3 separate regions of the Homo sapiens genome follow, and all the other regions are linked to region 2. The links are contacts of gene promoters, found by promoter capture Hi-C in blood cells and fetal thymus (Javierre and others, 2016). All regions are on one chromosome and are shown on one strand. Each heading gives the region's core, a stretch centred on a gene start or on the middle of the fragment in contact. The rest is flanking DNA. Distances are from core to core; before and after follow the strand shown. Region 1 overlaps MARCHF6 (membrane associated ring-CH-type finger 6). Region 2 holds the start of CMBL (carboxymethylenebutenolidase homolog). Region 3 overlaps MARCHF6 (membrane associated ring-CH-type finger 6).

Region 1 (2,796 bases), core at 293-2,792, 93 kb after region 2:
TCTGTCTTCATGATTGAGTTTCCCACTCCCCTGGTAATCTACTGCGCTGTCGATTTATTTCTACCATAAAGAAAAGATAACTATATTTTATTATTAGGAATGAAGTAAAATTTAGCCAGAAAGACTTGAGGAAAAAGAAGACTATAAAAATTCTCTTGCTATAAAGGTTTTAAAAATACTTTCATACTTAGCTATAATGCCATTATCTCACCTTACAAAATTACTAGAATTTGGTATTTCCTAATAATCCATCATATTCAAACTCTCTGGGTTGTCCCTTACATACCATTTTGCAGTTGGTTTCTTTGAATGAAGACCCAAATAAGGTCCACATATTACTTTTAGTTGTTAAGTTATAAGTTATTAGTCTTTTAATCTAGAGTACTCTTCTCTTTGCTTCCCCCAACTCACCCTATTTGGCCATTGATTTGTTGCTGGGATTAGGTTAACTGTTCTTGCAGCATGTCATGTTTTACATCTGTCCATCTGCTTCCTGGATGTCCTCTGCCTTTATCCTTTGTCTCCCATATTTCTCTTAAACTGGAAGTCAGATCTAAGGGCCTTATTAGATTCAGGTTGAATACATCTGGGACAAATCCATCACTGGTCACACTGTGCCTATTAATAGTATATGTGAGGAGCTGAGATACATGATGTTGGATTATCCACTTTTATCACTGGATTCAGCTGATATCAACCTGGGCCTCTAATCTTAGGTTTTGTTTTTCCCTTTACCATTATAAAATAATCTGTTGGGAGTGATATTTTAAACAGTCATTTTTTATATTTATTGGCTGACTTTTCTGAAAGAAGAAGAAATTCTTATCAATTTGGGACTATTCAGTCAACCCAAACCTGTCTGTCCGGGGCAAGTAGGACAGATGCTCATATTTTTCCCATTAATTTTGGTTTTCAGAATAAGGAATTGGTGTATTAACTATTCACATGGGTGTGCTAACTGCTTCCAAAACATCAAAGTGTTTTCTTTGATGTTGCTTTTTCTCTTTTCGTGATTATTATTTTGGACTTTTCCTTTTTTGAGCATCATAAACTCATGGATTTGTGTATGTTCAGTGTTTTTCCATCAGTTTTGGTCATTATTCTTTTTGATGCTCATATTATCCTCTCTTTGGCCTGTTTTCACAATGGTTTCTGTGTTGATTTGGCATGGCCCTATTAGACCTTAATAGCTTTGTTGTTCTCTAGTTACAGAGAATGTCCTAGGCAGTGTATTTTTAGCCTAGTTCTGGAATCTTTCATTTCTCCAAGAAGCCCTAGTTCCTTTTAGTGGGGAATTGTAGTAGGAGTGTTCATTGTTTTGATGTCGGAGTTTTCATGGAATTTTTTCCCCCTTTTTAGCATTTTGCCCTTACCATATTGGTCATTTCTCCCTTGTTGGTTTGGGATTTGAAGAACACGTGAGTATAATACTTTTACAAAGTTACTTTCATTCATTACTCCCAAATGTGATTATTAATAAAATAGTATTCTAAAGAGTTACATCATTTCTTCATTGGCATTATGCAAGGGAATAGTTAGGCAATACCGTCTCATTCTTTTTTAAAAAAAATAACAGTGGCTCAAGAGATAGTGGTCATGTTGCCAACTAATGAAAATGTGCTCTGAAATCCAGTCAGCTGGGTGGGCCTGAGGCATACCGTGGGAAAGTTTCCCACAGGCTGATTTTCTGTCCATCTCAAGAACCTGTATGTTCTCTTCTTTCCCTTTCCCCAGGTGCCCCCTGCTGAATTTAGAAAAGTAACAATATATCAATCAATTTAAAAAGGGTAGAATATTTTGGAATGACGGGTTGTAGTGTTTTCTAGAGTGCTTTAGTTTTGACATTTTATCAGTATTTTCCAGAGGTAAATAAATTTTGGAAGGATTATTACTTCTCTGTTGGGGCCCTAGAACAATTTAGTCTTTTATGGAAAAGCTGACTATCTGGGATCATATGCTCAGTTTGTATATTTGAGATCTGAGAGATCACGTTCTGAAGTCTTCTCATATTTAGTACACCTCTGATTCTCACTAGTTGAATGCAAGAACTTGAAAGGTTCAGGTAAGTGTTTTGAAAAATTTTGACTTTCCAAACTTTTGCCACTTGCTATCTGAAACTCAGGAATCAAAAAATACCGACAGGCACTGTTACTTTCAAAATTCTTTCTATAAGTTGAGAATGGGACAGATTTGCAGAGCAAGGGAAACTTGAACAGTTACTTCTAGTGGTAGGAAATGAGGTGGCTAGGATATTACCCAGCTGGTGGGTGACTTGGGCAGTGTGTTCCTGCTTTCAGTGGTTAGCCTTTAGCAAATCTGCTTTAGAGTGAGAGTAGAGGGCAGGCTGTTGTATTACAGTGCTCTTGTTTTTGTAAAATTTAATTCACTCTACTGTTATTTTGTCTCCTTGGGTAAAGTGTTATTTAATTTTTCTTCATTTTTTAGTAATATATAACAGTCAGTGAGAGAATTTGGTTTTCAGAGATGTCATCCAAAGCAGATTTTACAGTTGTTTCCTGGTTATAAATTGTCTCAACAATTCTCTTTTAGTCATTTAGATTGTTTAATATGGGAAAACCGGGGTGTAGAACATGTTGTAAAATTAAATTTTATTTACTTTTTTCTTATTTCCAGGTCCAAGCATCTCATTTTGAAGGCCTAATCACAACCATAGTTGGGTATATACTTTTAGCAATAACACTGATAATTTGTCATGTATCCTTTAATGAACCAACTTGGGTGTACACTAATATTATTCATACCAAAGAACTCTTCATTAATGGCGAAACTTGTCTA
Region 2 (2,700 bases), core at 173-2,672:
TTTCTGGAAGCTTTAGAAATTTAGAAATAGAAACCACGTGGAAGTGCATCCAGGGCTCAGGGTTACAGAGGACCCCAAGACAACACAGGAAAGTGGGGTCTAATGGGAAAGGCAGGAGGTTTCTCCTTTACTGCTTAAACATTGTAGGAACTTGCATGGCAAGTGATTTTCAATCTTGCAGCAGGGAAGGCAGGGCCAGTACTTATCCTTAGATGATTCTACAAACATCAAACTTCTCCAAATATTTATTTTTCAGCAGCCATGCTTGTATTTTCCAAGTGTCTATGGTCGAGATAGCATGAATTAGGAAGCTACCTGGATGAGCCCACAATGGCCCTCTTAGACATGCCAACGACGCCCCTGCAGAATCTGCTTTTTCTCTGGCTGTTCCTAGGCCTGGATAGGGTTCCCAGGCCTGGACAGGATTCCCCGGATACCGGCGAGGCTCATTACTAACCACTTTATTTTAAATGGGCTTTGAAAACAACAGGTGGCATCTTCCATCAGCAAGTGGACATAAATCTCAGTGCCCAGTGTTTCCAAGGCCTGCCCGACCCACATGGCTGTGGGGTGTAAACTGTCCAGTCGTTCCTGGCACACCTACCCAGCATTTAGGATGTCCCACTCTTAGATCCATAGACCCAGCACCTCTCTTCTTAATACCCACCCTAAAGAAAAGCTGTCGAATGTGGATGCTGATTTAGTTGCAAATATGCTCAGTTTTTTAATAGTTTTATATTAGTAAAAACGCTACAACCAGAATGTCTCACTGCAGGAAGAGAGTTACAAGGAGTATTTAACGGCATGGTGGAAAGGCTCCTCCGTGCTAAATGGCCAAAACGAACGCAAGTTTGCATACGGTGTGATTTCCACTATGTCTTTAAAATGCATGGCGAAACACCTACAGGAAAATACCAAAATGTAAACAGCGGCTGCTTCGGACGCATGGGATCGTGGAGGCTGCTGTTCTGCAAGGACAACGTATCACTTTTATGAAAGTCAGCTTCTGAAAACGGACTATGGGAAGTTCCTTACCCGTGCACGCGGCAAAGACCTTCTTTGCCATAGTCAGAACACACGCGGGAGTTCAGAGGAGCGGGGCCCGGGCTTGTGTGGGCTTGTGTGCCCCGGGGACGCGCACGTACCTTGTCCCGCGGCCTGAGACTGCGCTGCACCGCGCGGAGGCCGAACCCAGAGGAGGCGGCGTGGCGCCGGGCGGGGACGCGAGAGGGACGTGGACGCGGCGACCGAGGACGCGGGGATCCTGCGGGACCAGTGGCTCCAGTCGTAGCCTCCTGGGAGAGCCAAGCCCGGAGGGGGCGGAGAGGTGGAGGAGGGAGGCCTGGGGGAAGAGAAATCTGCAAAGTCGGGGAAGGGAAGGAAGGCCAGGAGGGAGGGAGGCGCAGTGGGGAGGAGACGAGAGAAGGGAGGGAGGGAAGTGTGAGGGGAGGGGAAGAAGTGGGGTGGTCGGAGGGTGGGGTAGGGAGGAAGAGGGAGGGAGAGATGGGAGAGGCTCCAAGATAAAGAAAGGTGCAGGGAGAGGGGGTGGGAGGGAGGGAACCGCAGAGAGGAAGGGAGAAGAGAATCAGGCAGCCTTGAGGGAGGAGGCAGGGAGGCCAGGAGAAGGAAGACAGCCAGCCTTCTGTGAGATTTACGTGCGTGCCTGGCTTCCAAGACAAGTAACTTCTGTTGTAAATACAAATTAAGCTATTTTTTGTTTATTTTATTTTATTTTATTTTATTTTATTTTATTTTATTTTAGAGATAGGGTCTTATTCTGTCACCCAGGCTGGAGTGCAGTGACACAATCATAGATCACTGGAGCCTCGAACTCCTGGCTTCAAGTGATCCTCCCCTTCAGCCTCCCAAAGTGCTGGGATTACAGGTGTGAGCCACCATGCCCAGCCACAATTTTTTTTTTTTTTTTTTTTTTTTTTGAGATGGAGTCTAACCCTGTTGCCGAGGCTGGAGTGCAGTGGCACGATCTCAACCTCAACCTCACTGCAACCTCCACCTCCCGGATTCAAGTGATTCTCCTGCCTCAGCTTCCCCAGTAGCTGGGATTATAGGCACGCGCCACCACGCCCAGCTAATTTTTGTGTTTTCAATAGAGACGGAGTTTTACCGTGTTGGCCAGGCTGGTCTCGAACTCCTGACCTCAAGTGTTCCACCTGCTTCGGCCTCCCAAACTGCCGAGATTACAGGCGTGAGCCGCCGCACCCGGCCCCAGCCCCAAATTAAGCCTTTTTTTAAAAAAGAAATTAATACACGTTTCATACTTGCCTCCTTCGTATTTTCTCTGGTCATCTGCCCAAGGTTATGACAACAGCTTCAACTTGGCTGCAGAAGCACACCCCTGTGGCTCACTCAAACTGGAAACATACAGGAAAAGGGAATTCTAGGAATATAGCTCAGCCTGGACAAATGGGCACATTAAAAAGCCATTGCACCGTGGTGGCCGCACTTCCTGCCATCCCCACTGCAAAGGTGTTGTTATGGACTGAATGTTTGTGTCCCCTCCAAAATTTGTACGTTGAAATCCTAACCACCCCGCCCATGGTGGTATTTGGAGGCGGGGCCTTTGGGAGATGCTTAGGTCATGAGGGTGGAGCCCCCAAGAATGGGATTTGTGCCGTTACAAAAAGAGGCAAGGGAGCTTGCTTCCTCATCTGTATGCCAGGAAGAGGATACTCACCAAGA
Region 3 (2,751 bases), core at 214-2,713, 110 kb after region 2:
GATCAGACTCCTCTTTTTTATCCATGGCAGGTAAATGTATGTCTTTTGCTCATGTTATTTCATTAAGGATTTGAGATCAGAAAATAATCCTAGCCAGGCATGGGGCTTACGCCTATAATCTAGCACTTTGGGAGGCTGAGGTGGGAGGACTGCTTGCACCCAGGAGTTCGAGACCAGCCTGGGCAGCATGGCAAGACCTAGTCTCTATAAAAAATTGGCTCATGCGTCTGGTCCCAGCTGCTTGGGAGGCAAAGGTGAGAGGATCACAGGAGGTTGAGGCTGAAGTGAGCCATGTTCATGACACTGCACTGTAGCCTGGGCAACAGAGTAAGAGCCTCTGTCCAAAAAAAAAAAAAAAAAAAAAGACAAAAGGAAAAAAATATAATTTTTAATTATTTTAGGTGATTTTAAGCAGCTGGTTTAGAAAGACTAATTTTTTTTTTAATTCTAGGAACTCTTATAAAATTGTTTAATGCTCTTTAATCTTTCAGAATATGCAGGTCTTATAACTCCTTTAAAAGTGCTTACTTTATAGGTTAAAATGTTACTAACCATTTAGTCTTCTCTAATACTTGAAAATACAAATTAATAGTCATTGATTTTTGTTCACCTTTGAGGTAGGGTGAATTGTCTTACTCCTTTTGACTTGGAGGCTTTAATACTTTTGAATTATTATAGCATGTTTTCCCACAAAGTCACAGATTCATTAAAAAGAGTATCCTGGCTGGGTGCAGCGGCTTATGCCTGCAATCACAGCACTTTGGGAGGCCAAGGTGGGTGGATCACCTGAGCTCAGGAGTTGAAGACTAGCCTGGACAACATGGTGAAATCCCATCTCTACCCAAAATACAAAAAATTAGCCAAGCGTGGTGGTGTGGGCATGTGGTCCCAGCTACTCGAGAGGCTGAGGTGGGAGGATCTCTTGAGCCTGGGAGGCCGCGGTTGCAGTGAGCTGAGATCATGCTACTGCACTCCAGCCCGGGCGACAAGAGTGAGACCCTGTCTCCAAAAAAAAAAAAAAAACCAAGAGCATCCTGAGGGAACCCATGTAAGTCACAGCAAAGGTCTTAAAGCTCATGGAAAAAGAAATGGAACTTTTCTATTGTATTTAGAGCCTGAGGTTTTTAACATCATAGAATTAAGATCTCAAGTTCTTAGTAGGTATTGGGGGAAAAGAGCTAGGTATTGACTTCAGTCATTCAAAGGCTTTTTAGCTTTGTTTTTATCTGTTAGTATATTGCAATGGATTTTTCAGAAAATGAAAATTATTTGGCCCGTATTTCCCTTTTTCTGCTTTCCAGATGGAGAACCTCCACAAACTTCATTTACCCGAAAATTTTTATTTAAGTGCTTTTAATGGTGTACCCACACCCTGGATTGTATCACCCAGATGAAAATGAGGCTAGTGCAGTAATTTTCCTGAGGAATTTACACACTCTGATGGGAAAGCTAGACAGGTACACAGGTGTTGTGTGGTGTGATTAGGGGAAGCACAAGGAACTGTGGCATTGTGTAGGAGAGACATTTAATCTAGCTTTGGGAGTTTCAGGTATGGTGTTCCATAAGAGATAGTATCTAAGCCAACCTAACTAGTAGAGAACAGAGAAGTGGGTAAGAAAGGAAGAAGTATATTCCAGGAGGGAGATGGGCAGACCTGGCTTGAGACAAGGCATGCATATGTGGGGAACTGCCTCCTTTCTAGTCTGGTTCATAGACTAGAATAGGTGAGAAATAAGTAATACAAAGAAGTACAGAACTGACTTGTGTTTTGATTTATGACTTTTTAACTTTTTGATGGTTGAAAGCGATACACATTCAGCAGAAACTGTACTTTGAGTACTTCTACAGCTATTCTGTTTTTCACTTTCAGTATAGTATTCAGTAAATTGCATGAGATAGTCACTACGTAATTATAAAATTACGTAGGCTTGTTAGGCCTCAGTTATACTACAAGGCAAAAAATAAAATAGGTTTTGTGTTAGAAGTTTTTGCCCAACTATAGGCTAATGTAAATGTTCCGAGCGCATTGTGATAGGCTGGGCTAAGCTATGATGTTCGGTAGGTTAGATGTATTAAATGCATTTTTGACTTACAGTGTTTTCAATTACAGATGGGTTTATCTGGACCTAACATCATTGTAAGTTGAGGAGGATCTAATTAAGCATATGTTATGCCTTTCTGTAAGAGCCGTATTCCAGAGTAGTCAAATAGTATCTGTAATTGAAGGAAAGAGCTACCTTTTTTTTTTTTTTTTACAGAAAAATGCCAGCAAATAAAGGTAGAGAGATTAACACGATTAGAAAAATACTATTTTGCAATACCTAACAAAATAATTGATTATAGCAAGGATTGTTAATGGATGTTGAACCCAACAGATGAAAGGTTGATCAGTCTTCAGTTGCTATTGCTGTGTAACAAGTTATCCCGCAACTTTGCAGCTTAAAACAACCATTTTAATTTTGTCCATAGAGTCTGTGGGTCAGATATTAAGACAGGGCATATCACTTTGCCTCTGCTTTGTGCTATCTGGGACTCAGCTGGGAAGATTCAATGGCTGGGAATGATTTGACAGTTATGGATGGAATCATTTGGCTGGAAACACACAACTAGTGGAGGGGTCAGGCTGATAATACCCTAACCCAGTCAGTGATCACTTAACAGTGTGAGAGTTGATGCTTGTTGTTGGTTGCTACCCATCTGGGGCTGTTGACTGGAGCTCCTATATGTGCCTGGGCTGCTTCATAGCTAAGT

The links. Contacts are between HindIII fragments. The CHiCAGO score rates a contact against its expected background, and 5 or more counts as called.
Region 1: a fragment that was not itself captured here is called in contact with the fragment with the promoter of CMBL in region 2 in 1 of 17 cell types (erythroblasts); the score reaches 6.2 in erythroblasts.
Region 3: a contact is called between a fragment that was not itself captured here and the fragment with the promoter of CMBL in region 2, in 4 of 17 cell types (erythroblasts, megakaryocytes, naive CD4 T cells and 1 more). The highest score is 10.9, in erythroblasts.

Annotation. Positions count from the first base shown.
Region 1 is chr5:10,399,425-10,402,220 of GRCh38, forward strand. MARCHF6 (membrane associated ring-CH-type finger 6) reads left to right here. Exons shown (of 26, transcript NM_005885.4): 11 at 1,360-1,418; 12 at 2,635-2,715. Among named protein-coding and RNA genes, the nearest start is that of MIR10397, 1.5 kb to the right of the region's middle. RefSeq lists an enhancer at 1,593-1,642. The HindIII fragment of the contact is 4,451 bases long and covers 1-2,796 here.
Region 2 is chr5:10,306,480-10,309,179 of GRCh38, forward strand. It overlaps CMBL (carboxymethylenebutenolidase homolog), which reads right to left and starts at 1,423. Exons shown (of 6, transcript NM_138809.4): 1 at 1,146-1,423. RefSeq lists an enhancer at 701-1,201. The HindIII fragment of the contact is 4,286 bases long and covers 9-2,700 here.
Region 3 is chr5:10,417,375-10,420,125 of GRCh38, forward strand. MARCHF6 (membrane associated ring-CH-type finger 6) reads left to right here. Exons shown (of 26, transcript NM_005885.4): 22 at 1-30. Among named protein-coding and RNA genes, the nearest start is that of MIR10397, 16 kb to the left of the region's middle. The HindIII fragment of the contact is 7,264 bases long and covers 1-2,751 here.